Regions from separate parts of the Homo sapiens genome. Here regions 2 and 3 are each linked to region 1. Evidence: promoter capture Hi-C in 16 types of primary human blood cells and fetal thymus (Javierre and others, 2016). All regions are on one chromosome and are shown on one strand. Each heading gives the region's core, a stretch centred on a gene start or on the middle of the fragment in contact. The rest is flanking DNA. Distances are from core to core; before and after follow the strand shown. Region 1 holds the start of SIGLEC12 (sialic acid binding Ig like lectin 12). Region 2 overlaps ZNF175 (zinc finger protein 175). Region 3 overlaps SIGLEC5 (sialic acid binding Ig like lectin 5).

Evidence for each region. Contacts are between HindIII fragments. The CHiCAGO score rates a contact against its expected background, and 5 or more counts as called.
Region 2: a fragment that was not itself captured here is called in contact with the fragment with the promoter of SIGLEC12 in region 1 in 1 of 17 cell types (erythroblasts); the score reaches 6.3 in erythroblasts.
Region 3: a contact is called between a fragment that was not itself captured here and the fragment with the promoter of SIGLEC12 in region 1, in 1 of 17 cell types (erythroblasts). The highest score is 6.1, in erythroblasts.

What each region holds. Positions count from the first base shown.
Region 1 is chr19:51,500,098-51,504,936 of GRCh38, reverse strand. It overlaps SIGLEC12 (sialic acid binding Ig like lectin 12), which reads left to right and starts at 3,137. Exons shown (of 8, transcript NM_053003.4): 1 at 3,137-3,630; 2 at 4,637-4,839. The coding sequence starts at 3,204. The HindIII fragment of the contact is 28,149 bases long and covers 1-4,839 here.
Region 2 is chr19:51,582,989-51,587,708 of GRCh38, reverse strand. It overlaps ZNF175 (zinc finger protein 175), which reads right to left. Exons shown (of 5, transcript NM_007147.4): 5 at 1-1,082. Among named protein-coding and RNA genes, the nearest start is that of LINC01530, 9.0 kb to the left of the region's middle. RefSeq lists a silencer at 1-17. The HindIII fragment of the contact is 644 bases long and covers 1,037-1,680 here.
Region 3 is chr19:51,613,194-51,616,105 of GRCh38, reverse strand. The region is part of intron 8 of SIGLEC5 (sialic acid binding Ig like lectin 5); the gene reads left to right. LOC124904753 (a long non-coding RNA gene) reads right to left here. Exons shown (of 3, transcript XR_007067313.1): 2 at 2,057-2,277; 3 at 390-682. Among named protein-coding and RNA genes, the nearest start is that of SIGLEC5, 16 kb to the left of the region's middle. RefSeq lists a silencer at 290-439. The HindIII fragment of the contact is 7,305 bases long and covers 1-2,912 here.

The sequences.
Region 1 (4,839 bases), core at 1,888-4,387:
ATGGGTGCATGGTGAGAATTTCATGAGTGCCCTTGTTTGTGGGGCCACATGTCTGTGACAAACCTCGGGCCCCATTGTCCAGGAAAAAAGAGCCTCTGTTTTCAATGTTGGGGTCTCTGGGACTACAGCCTGCTTGAATTCCTCCCCTGAAAATGGGCTTTTCTTTTCTACCACTTGGCCAGGCTGCAAATTATCCAAACTTTTACACTCTGCTTCCCTTTTAAATACAATTTCCAGCTTTCAGTGATTTCTTTCTTTGCTCACACATGAGCATATGCTGTTAGAAGCAACCAGGCCATGTCTTCAATGCTTTGCTTCTTAGACATTTCTTCCACGAGATACTGAAAATCTTCACTCTTGTGCTCAAAGCTCCACAGATTCCTAGGGCAGGGGCACAATGCAGTGAAGTTCTTTGCTAAGGCATAACAAAATGGACCATCGCTCTGGTTTCCAATAAGTTCCTCATTTCCGTCTGAGACCTCTTCAGCTTGGCCTTCACTGTCCATATCACGACCAATATTTCAGTCATAACTATTCAACCAGTCTCTAGGAAGTTTCAAACTTTCCTTCATCTTTCTGTCTTTTTGTGAGCTCTCCACACTCTTCCAACTTTTGCCTGTTAACCAGTTCCAAAGTTGTTTTCAAATTTTCAGGTGTCTTTGTAGCAATGCCCCACTCCTCTGTACCAATTTTCTGTATTAGTTCATTCTTCCATTGATATAAAGAAATACCTGTGACTGGGTAACTTATAAAGACAAGAGGAATAATCGGCTCGTGGTTCTGCAGGCTGTACAGGAAGCAGGATGTTGACATCTGCTTGGCTTCTGGGGAGTTCCTCAGGAAACTTACAATCATGGCAAAAAACAAAGGGGAAGCCAGCATGTCACATGGCCAGAGTAGCAGGATAGAGCAAATGGGGAGATGCTGCACACAGACAACAAGCAGATCTTGTTAGAACTCACCCACTCTCACAAGAACAGCTCCAAGAAGATGGTGCTAAGCCATTCATGAGAAATCCACCCCCGTGATCCAACCACCTCCCACTACAACCCACCTTCAATATTGAGGCCTATAATTCGGCATGAGATTTGGTGGGGACACAGATCCAAACCATATCAGGCTCTAATCCTATTAGGCTAATCCAAACCACCTATCTAAACACCATGCCTTCTAATACTATCACATGGGGGTTCAAAGGTCAACAAATGAATTTTGAGGAGAGACATGTAGCTGTAGCACTTGTCACTCTGGTCCTTAATATCTTCCTCTCCAAATTATGGAAGTGGGTCTAGAGGGCCCATCAGCTCCTCTGAGTCATATGTGGTTCAAACGTTCTTCCTTTGCAGATTCTCTGTGGCTTCCTCATGTCTCTCCTTCCCATTTTTCTGCTTTTCTTTGCCAACTGGGGACTGTGGGAAAGAGATGGGCCGTGGTCGAGCCCTTCTTCCCATTGAGATGCTGCAACTGTCCTTACGGGAAGAAAGTGACACGGCAAGGATGGGGGCCCAGGAGCAGATTGGTCTGCAGGATGAGATACAAGCTGCAAATGCAGGAATTAGTGGTGTCAGGGAGAGGAGCAGCTATGCATGCCCCAATCCTGCACATTTCCTTTTCAATTATCACAGCCAACTGACTCTACTCCAGGTTATGGGCAATTGGGGACAACATGGGGATGGGAAGATCCATGGAGCTGAGTAAAATAAAACAGATTGTGGTTTTTATGTAAAAATAGTCTTTAGAAAAACCTATGCAAAGCCATAGTATTGAAGGCAGTGCACTCAGATGATAAAACTACATAGAAAAGCAAGGAGACCATTATCATTAAAGTGAGGCTGGGGCATCTTCAGGAGGAACTGCATGTGGCCTATAGGAAGGGGAAACACAGGGCTGAATAAATGAATGCAATTTCTTTCTTCATCTCATGGGAGAAATTTGGCAATTATCTTGTGATGTTCTATTTCTTGAACAGTGATAATTTGGTGAAAATCACTGAGTCATTTTTTTAGGTGGCACTTTTATTTACTTGTATTACATTTCCCCAAAAATCATTGTTTCAAGAAAAGCTGACATGGGTCTAAGGAGGGCGAATCTTGCAGGATTTTCCCCACCTTCCTCCCAGTACATAGCATACAGTTTCAAAAACTCTTCTGCTGAATTCAGGTGCATTTCTTCTCCCATGAAATCCTGTCCATCATTGAGCGTGGACACGCCAGGGCTGGTGTCCTCGCTCCACGTCTCCTGTTCACCTGAAACCCTGGGAGCAGAGCCTGCAGGAACAAAGGGCCAGCAGACCCCTCATGCTCTGGAGTAAGGAGGACTTGTGAGAGAGCAGTGGTGAAGGATCCCATCCTGAACCCAGAGAGCCATGGCCGAGAGAGAAACGCCTGCCCCTTTAGAAATCTGTCCCTTCCCATCCAACATTCCTCCCTTCCAGACCTCACTGTACAACAGTCACAGCCTTAGCTTCTCAGGCCTCCTGTGAACTGGGCTCTTCTCTGTGTCTTTGGTGTGTATCAACACACGGAATCCTCACCTCCACGACCCCGTGTCTCTCTGCTCAGTCCTCCCGAGACTGATTCCCCAACATAGGAGAGAGCGACCACACCCTGCCTGGTACCCCCACTGAAGCTCCTGCCATGGAGAGCTCAGATATCAGGAGCCTCAGTGTCTCCCCACTACACAGTGACTCTTTGGGGACAGTGTCTAGCTCTGCTGTGTTGAACTCCACCTCACGGCCGCTGAGGGAGGAAGGAGAGGTTGCCTGCTCATCCCACCTGCACCCCCATCTCTTATATCCTAGTGTCACCTCTGACCTACAGAGAGACATCCACAGCCTGTACTTCATAGGTCTGGCCACATGGGACTCATTTTCACCTTATGGAAAATATCACCCAAGGGGAAGGGCACTGAGAGGGAGGCAGTGGGCGGGGTGGGCCCTGCATGGGGTTGGAATCTGGGTGAGTCTTTCATCCTCTCTGGCCTCAGGGTCCCCAGGAGTGGACGGGGTAGTGGACGGTGGATCTTCCAGGGGTGACCCGGCCCTGACAGTGTCTGTGTGTGAAGTTCCTCCTGTGAGGTCACCGTTCAGAACCCACCCCCAACTTCCTGTGCGGCTTCCTCGAAATCTTGAGTTCTCAGTTCCTGAGAGAAGAACCCTGAGGAACAGACTTACCTCAGCAACCCTGGCACCTCCAACCCGACACATGCTACTGCTGCTGCTACTGCTGCCACCCCTGCTCTGTGGGAGAGTGGGGGCTAAGGAACAGAAGGATTACCTGCTGACAATGCAGAAGTCCGTGACGGTGCAGGAGGGCCTGTGTGTCTCTGTGCTTTGCTCCTTCTCCTACCCCCAAAATGGCTGGACTGCCTCCGATCCAGTTCATGGCTACTGGTTCCGGGCAGGGGACCATGTAAGCCGGAACATTCCAGTGGCCACAAACAACCCAGCTCGAGCAGTGCAGGAGGAGACTCGGGACCGATTCCACCTCCTTGGGGACCCACAGAACAAGGATTGTACCCTGAGCATCAGAGACACCAGAGAGAGTGATGCAGGGACATACGTCTTTTGTGTAGAGAGAGGAAATATGAAATGGAATTATAAATATGACCAGCTCTCTGTGAATGTGACAGGTAAGGCACGGGCTCCAAGAGAGGCCAAAGGCAAATGTGATGAGGGCTTTAGGGCACGGCTGAGACGGGACACATGTCCTGGGAGGGGGCCGGGGGTGATGGACTCAGGGGAGGAGCTGGACCAGAGCCTGAGCTTCCCCAGGACCGCACCTTGGATGCCCCTCCTGATCCTGCAAGCCCCTCCCCTCACCAGCCCTGACCCACAGGCCTGACATCCTCATCCTGCCTCTGACGCTGGCACTGTGGCATGTGGGGCCTTATGACTCCTTGTTTTGGGGCCTGTCCTAGGCATGGCCGGGGTTTAGCACCATCCCAGGCCTCTCCCCACCAGATGCCAGAAGCACCCACCCCACCCATGCAGCGAGACAATTATCTCCACACATTGTCAAACGTCCTGGGGGGTTAAGTCCTCCCCAGTTGAGAGCCTTAGGTCTACACAACCCCGTGACTCTCTCAGGCCAGGCCAGGGAGGAAGCACTTCCTGGCGCAAACCAAGGGCAGCAGAGGCACCTGAGCCTGGACAGGGAGACTCAGCACACGGCCCCTCCATCTCTCATGCCCCGAGGTCCTCGGAGATCCACATTTAGATGCTCAAAAGACAGGAGGGACCTCCACGATGGTCCAGAGGCCGGGAGGGCAGGACCTACGTGTCTGGTGCAGGCCCTGGTGCTTCAGGGAAGCCCGGAGGTAGGAGGCGGGACACGGTCTCTTCTCCTCCCTGGGTGGGTCTCTAGGGTCTCTGAGCTTTAGGGTTTCCTTCACTCTGTGCAGAGGGAATGAGTTCCTATAGCATGTGGGTTTGCAGTTTCTCTTCCATGCAGGGCTGAGGTCTCCAGCTCCTCTCCAGCCCCCTGTGGGTCCCACAGCCCTGCCCCTCCTCTCCCTCCCCCTTCTCTGCTCACACAGGGAGCCCAGGAAGCCTCTGCCTCAGAGATGCTGCTGCCCCTGCTATGGGCAAATGAAGAGAGGGACAGTGGGGGCTGGGCTGACCCTCGTTTCTCCACAGCGTCCCAGGACCTACTGTCAAGATACAGGCTGGAGGTGCCAGAGTCGGTGACTGTGCAGGAGGGTCTGTGTGTCTCTGTGCCCTGCAGTGTCCTTTACCCCCATTACAACTGGACTGCCTCTAGCCCTGTTTATGGATCCTGGTTCAAGGAAGGGGCCGATATACCATGGGATATTCCAGTGGCCACAAACACCCCAAGTGGA
Region 2 (4,720 bases), core at 109-2,608, 85 kb before region 1:
CTTCTGGATGAAGGCCTGCCCGCATTCGATACACACATAGGACTTCTGCCCTGAGTGGATTCTCTGGTGCAAGCTGAGTGTTGACTTCTGGGTAAAGGCTTTCCCACATTCACTGCATGCATACTGTCTCTCACCAGTATGAATTTTCTGATGTATAATGAGGGTTGAGTTTTGGGAGAAGCCTTTGCCACATTCACTGCATTCATAGAGTTTTTCTCTACTGTGAGTTCTCTGATGTCTGAAGAGAGATAACATCTGGAAAAAGGCTTTTCCACAGTCATGGCATTTATAGGGCTTCTTTCTAGTGTGTGTTTTCTGGTGCGTAAGCAATTCTGATCTCTGAATAAAGACCTTCCCACATTCCTTGCATATACAGGGTATATCACCTGTATGATCTGTCAGATATACACTGAGTTTTAGTTGTGGCATGAAGGCTTTTCCACATTTGCCACATTCATGGAGGTTTCCTACACTATGAATTCTCTGTTGGGCAAAGAGGTGTGACTTCTGGGTGAAGCTCCCCCCACATTCAGAACATCCATCTGGTTTCTTCTGAGTATGAATTTGATGTTGCTTGAGTGACTGTTTATGGCCACAGACTTTTCTACACTGGTTACCTTTGCAAAATGTCTCTCCTGTATGAATATTCTTGCTGCAGGCATCAGAAGAGCTATGGCTGAATAGCTGACCAGACCCAACAACGTCATCAAGCTGTTCTGTGTCATTGCTTTCATTCTGACCGTTCACTTCTAGGTTCAGCTTCAAACTTTCTGTAAATAAGCAACATTTCTGAGGTTGTTTCTGTGAAGAAGCAAGGTGGGGCCTCGTGCGAATCATTTTCCCAGGGTCCTTATATTCACAATTGCTTTCTGTGTTCAATGTTTTCTTGTTGAAGAAAGCACTGTGACTCATGGGTTGAATTTGATTTTGCTCATCTTTCTTTGTGCGGTCAGCATCCAGCCTCAGTTCTTCTAAAATGGAACACCATGAACCATCTCTTGTGAACTCACCTACCATATCCTTTTGAAATGAAGCTTTCTTAGAAATCTCCTTTTGTGGGATTTCAAGCCCAAACTCCCTTTCTAAAAGGAGAAAGAGAAGATGAAATAGACACAATGAACAAGAAAGAGGAGAAACTGCATGAAGCTGATTGACACAGAACACAAGGAAATTGCTGAGTCATGTAATAATGCTGCTAATGATGCTGACAATGAGCAGAAACACAGAGCCCTTATTACATGATGAGCATTTATCTACATAGCACTTAGCATGTGCCAGGCAGTGGCCTACATGGTGCACACATACTCATTTAATCTGCATAATAACCTCAGGAGGTAGCGATGATGGGTGTTCCTGTTTTACAAAGAAAAGGAAGCACATAATGGTTATGTAATTGGCCAAGATCACTTTGCTAATCTGTGGGGATTAGATTTCAACAACCTGAGGACACTTATGCAAGTGGTCTAGACACCCAGATCTAGTAGGATGAGTAGGATAAAACAGACAAGTGTTGCAGGGCAACATGTGTGGGCAGCCAAGGCTTGAAGGAGGGGGCTCAGTGTGTAGGTCTTCATTAACTTTCAGAGATGAATCCTCACCAATCTGCCTGCTTTATCTTACTTGTTAGAAACAATGCCAAGTCCATCAGCCCTGTATATCCTTCTGAAAACTATTAAAGCTTCACCTATCTTGACATGGCCAACCAGTGAAAGAATGACTATGCCTCAACTCTCCTATGCCTCAACTCTCCATGAAGCTACAATTTTTTTTTCTTGAACTTAGGAATATACCCATATCCCCAGAAATATATTCTAAAAGACTGGACAAGCAAGCTGTTCCCCAGAATTTGTTTCACCCTTGTTCCATTGAAATTAATTGTTCTTTGTTAGAACTTTTGGCTTTATGCTATCAAATATGCCTTTTTTAGTTTAGTTTTTTGTTTTGTTTTGTTTTTTTGCCAAGAATAAGAGTCCCTGATCATCCTGTGCACTTTACTAGTATACTGCACAAAACACAGCAGGTTCTCAATAAAAATAATAGTTACTAAATTTTACTATTACTTTTTCTACCAGATTTTAATACTGAGTATGAACATCACATGTAGTTTCTTTTCGCTTTCAGTCACTTAAACTGTATCCCAGACTCTTGTCCTATCAAAAAAACTCAATCATCTTTCATTCTTTTTTTAAAAAAAGGACACTTTTAATCTTTATTGTTAACTTTTTCTTATTGTAGCAAAAGTGCATAATATTACATTTACCATCTTGCCCATTTTGTATTGTACAGTTCAGTAGTGCTACCTGTATTCACCCTGTTGTGCAATGGATCTCCAAAACTTTTACATCTTGCAAAACTGAAATGCTGTATCCATTAAACAATTTCCCTTTTCCCCCATCCCTCATTCTCTGGCAGCCACAATCTTATTCTGTCTCTATGAATTGACTACTTAAAGTACCTCATACAGGTAGAATGATACATTTGGATTTTTTGTGTCTGGCTTATTCACTTAGCATCATGATAAGATTCATCCGCACTGCAACATGTTTCATAATTCCTCTTCCTTTTTAAGGCTGAATAATATTTCATTGTATGTATAGACCACATTTTGTTTACCAATTCATTGGTCAATGGACAATTCCACTTTTTGGATATTGTGAATAGTGCTGCTATGAACAAGAGTGTACAAACAGCTGTTTGGGTCCTTGCTTTCAATTCTTGTGGGTATCTACCCAGAAGTGGAGTTGCTGGATCATATGGTAATTTTATGTTTAATTTTTGAGAAATCATCATCCTGTTTTCCATAGGACTACACCATTTTACATTCCCACTAGTAATACACAAGGATTCCAGTTTCTCTATATCCTTGCCAACACTTGTTATTCTGTTTTTTTAATTGTAGCCATTCTAATGGATGTAAAGGGATATCACCCAGTGGTTTTGATTTGCATTTCCCACATAATTAGTGAAGTTGAGCATTTTTTCCTATTATTGGCCACTTGTATATCATCTTTGAAGACATGTCTATTCACATCCTTTTCCCACTTATTAAAATAGGTTGTTTTCTATTTCATTTTTCACTCTTAAATAGCAATTTTACCCATATACAGGTGGTCATTTATTCTGGCAATCTTCCACTGTGTCCCCAGGCAGCGATCTGAAACATTTTTAACTTCTCACTTTATTCAGGTCATAAAAATCTTGCTGAACCTGGTAACACTTAAATTACTGCCCAAAATGTTCAATGTAAACTATCAGAACTGTACTGAAAAGCTTTTCCACAACTCTCCAACACAGCCTAACAATGTCGATTGCAAAAAAGAAGTCCAATTTATTCTCAAATCCAAGCACACTCTCATGTCCTCTATTCCCATTAAGCTTGCTTCATCTGCTTCTTTGTTTCAATTCAAAATGGCTTCTTGAACCAGTTATAGGTACTATGCCCTTAAAATTAATTCCCAATGTCACTCCACCTCTAGGCTGACATCATTTTTCTGAACTTCACCAGCATTTGCTATCCATGCTTCCCATGTTGATACACTTACTTTTTGAGTAGCCTTCCATGAAATAGACATGATTGATGCACAAAGGCTAATACTTTTAACATTTAATGCCATTGTCCTCTCCATCCAAATACAATCTCCGTTCTTTTGAATTTATCTCAGCAAATATTTAAAGCATCCTTTTAAAATACTGTGAAATATTCTTTTCTGCCCATTTTCAGAAAATCAGTAATTTCTGTATCCTAAATACAAAAATCCTAATCCTATATCTTAAATACAATGGTTTCCTCATGCTAAACATTGATATAATGAAGATTAAGAAAGTACAAAGTAATCAGCAGAGTGTATGCAAAGTGAATCATTCTATGGAGTAGACATTAAACAACATACAAAAACAATGGAGCAGAGCATGAGTGATGAAAACTATTCAGGTATATTTTTAAATTGGAAATATGTGGCCATGAGGACAATATCACTGAAAAGAATTTGTTAATCCTACACAGTAGGAAATAGAACTGCCTGTTTTTATCATATCTACTGAGGAAAAAAGAAACAAAATAGCCATGTTTGGGGTCATAAAATCTGTCAGTATCTTGACTAAACTCAAAAACCTGAAATCAACATATCTCACTGGGAACAAAATTGTCTAAATATGAGAAAATGGGGATCTAGTTTGTTGTAATACCACTGGGATTAAGAAAAAGGGTCACTTTTTTCTTAATTAAAACAAGAAAAACTGGTAAGAATTCCAAAGTAATAAATTAAATTAGAGGACTGTGTTTCTGAGCCCAGAAACAGAAAAATCTCACAAAATTTATCAGGTGAGAATTCCTTATTTGGATGATGATGATTCCAATTTCTGATCTCCCAAAATTAAGGAAGTGAGTCATCTCATGGGAACTGTCCTCCGTGGAGCTAAGTAAGGTAGCAGAACACAGTTTAAGCACAGGGACTAGAGGTACTGATATATAAATCATTAGAATAAAAATATGAGGACTAAGAGTTCAGAATGGATGGGTCCTTTAAGTCAATTCCTGTGGGAAAAGATGCCCATAGCCGGGCACGGTGGCTCACGCCTGTAATCTCAGCACTTTGGGAGGCCAAGCCAGGCGGAACACCTGAGGTCGGGAGTTCGAGACCAGCCTGACCAACAAGGAGAAACCCCGTCTCTACTAGAAATACAAAATTAGCCGGGCATGGTGGTGCATGCCTGTAATCAC
Region 3 (2,912 bases), core at 404-2,903, 110 kb before region 1:
AGGCTTACTGAGCCAAAGAAATGACAGGGACGCCGGGCACGGTGGCTCACGCCTATAATCCCAGCACTTTGGGAGGCCGAGGTGGGCAGATCACCTGAGGTCGGGAGTTTGAGGCCAGCCCAACCAACATGGAGAAACTCCGTCTCTACTAAAAATACAAAATTAGCCAGGTGTGGTGGCACATGCCTGTAATCCCAGCTACTCGGGAGGCTGAGGCAGGGGAATCTCTTGAACCTGGGAGGTGGAGGTTGCAGTGAGCCGAGATCATGCCATTGCACTCCAGCCTGGGCAACAACAGTGAAGCATCGTCTCAAAAAAAGAGAAATGACTGGGACAAGCCCCAGGGTGGATCCCCTCAAGAACCCAAACCACACCCAACCAGTCCCACTTCCTATCACCCCAGTAAGGCAGCTTAAGTCATCCCTCCATCTTCAGACCCTCGTGGAGAAGCAACATTGGTCAAGGACTCTCGTTGCATTGTGATCCACCAGCCCTGGGAGTTTGGAGTGGAGAAAATGGCAAGGAGAATGTCAAAGACCAGTGAGCTTCCACCTCCGTTCTCCTTCTCCTCACCCCAGTGGGCCTCTGGTGCTTACCCAACACATGCCTGTTGGACACTGGCACATCATAATCCTGTCCATACTCTGAATTCTGCAGTGAGGGGCAGACAATGTTTGTCCCACTGGAAGGGTAGAGGAGAGAAAGGAGCAGAATTCAAGTATGTTTGGGCTAACCCATCCTCTCAACAAGCCAGCTGTCCCCCCGCCCAGTTCTCCCACCCCTTTTCTTCAAATGAGCCTTAACTTTCCCCTAGGGATATCAGTGTGATTGATTGATCATAAATTGATTTGTAAAGTTTTGTTCACCCAGGAGCTCCATCTTTAGTTCCATCATTGGTAGGTCTTGGAGAACAGAGCCGGTGTATGAATTCACTCTTTTGACAAGAACTATGGTAGAGAGAGCTTTGTTTTCTCCTTTATTTTACCTTTAACCATTCTGCACACTTTCATGCCATAGGCAGAATGGTAAAGCGAGGCACAGCATGGTCCCTGGAGTTTGACGTCCTGCATTCAGGTTCTAGATTCACCCACTTGCAAGCTGTGTGACCTTGGATAAGCTAATGAACCTCTCTGTTTTTTTGTTTTCTCCTATAGAAATTGGGTTATTAATATGCTAGTATCTGTCTCGGATTGTTACAAGGAGTGCTTAGTAAAGTGGCAAGCTCACAGGGAGCTCACTTATAACTGTTACCCAGTATTACTTTTCCTTCTGTCTAACAAGGAACTGCATGACGGGGAGGTATTTGGGTGGTTTCAGTCTGCTTTATGTCCTCATTTATACGAACGGCATCTAGCCCAAAGAAAGCACTCAGCAAAGAGCTATTGAGTGAAAGGGTGAACATACTGCATTGTCCTATTTACTAATCTGAGCTGTGCCTTTTCTTTCAGTTGTCAATTTCACCCTTTTTATTTCATATACCGCACACCTATTGATAGACATATGTCTTTATTTCTTCCTTTGCCTGCATAATGCTGGTGTGCATAGCCACTTTTTCATTTTATTTCATCTTTCTTGTGCCTAATATAAGCAGCTCTCTCCAGAAAGTCTATTTTTTTCTGACACAATGAAGCCATTTTTCCCTAACTGCGGAGTCCTTTTAAAAAAACTGTATGGCCAGGTGTGGTGGCTCACACCTGTAATCCCACCACTCTGGAAGGCTAAGCTGGGCCAGTCGCTTAGCCCAGGAGTTTGAGACCAACCTGGGTAACGTGGCGAAACCCTGTCTTTACAAAAATTAGCTGGGCATGGTGGCTTGTGCCTGTGGTCTCAGCTACTCAGGAAGCTGAGGTGGGAGGATTGCTTGAGCCAGGGACGGGAGGTTGCAGTGAGACGAAATCACACCACTGCCCTCCAGCCTGGATGACAGAGTGAAACTCTGTCTCAAAAAGAAAACTTCTGAGCTACTGTTTGAAGACTCACGTTGCTTTCAACATATTTTCCATAGCGTGATGGGTAGGGATATGGGTGAAGGTGGGAGAGGAAAGAAATTGCTTACTTGTATCTGGTTACCATCTTTGCTGGGGACAGGATCTGCTCCATTTTGTTTCTCTTTCATGGAAACTGGGTCCAGGATCAGAATTGCCATCTCTTTTCTGGTTTGCACATAAGACACCTTGTAACCTATGCCGAAGGTATACATTTGCTTCATCAATAATCCGCTCCTCCTGCCTAGGTCAGGGTCTATGTCTGATTTCTCACACTGTACGTGCCCAGAACCTGAAACAGGGGAGACAGGGCTGAGTTCGAATCCTGGCCTCGCCATGTATTAGATGAATAACCCTGGGCAAGCTACTTAACCTCTCTCCACCTCAGTTTCCCTGTGTGTAAGGTGGGGATAATTAGAATATCTTTTATACTGTTGTGGGTTTTTTTTTGGTGATGATTCAATGTGATTAGTAAGTCCTCAATATGGTCTGATCAATCATAGTATTACAAAATTTTGAAAGAATGAGCGAATAGTTGAGTTCACAGGAAATGTATATGGACAGGTGGGGCCGGGATTTGAACCCAGCCCTGTCTGCCCTGTGCCGGTTCCTGGGCACGTACAGTGTGAGAAATCAGACATAGACCCTGACCTAGGCAGCCTATGGCCTGTCCTTAGGAGGAGTGGATTATAAAAGGATGAATTGATAAATGTCACATCAGCCCAACTTCCCTGTGGGAACCATTTGTTGTATTTTTCTCTTATTTGGTGTTGAGGTCTCTCTTTGGGGAGTGGTCATAAAATCTAGCCCGGCCTTGAATGGGAACCCCAGAGATCTGGCCATCATGTTCACAGTGTGACTTTCACAGAATACTCCTTTATCCTGGCACACCACCTGCTGCCTGAGTGCCCAGCCTGTGACCCCCTC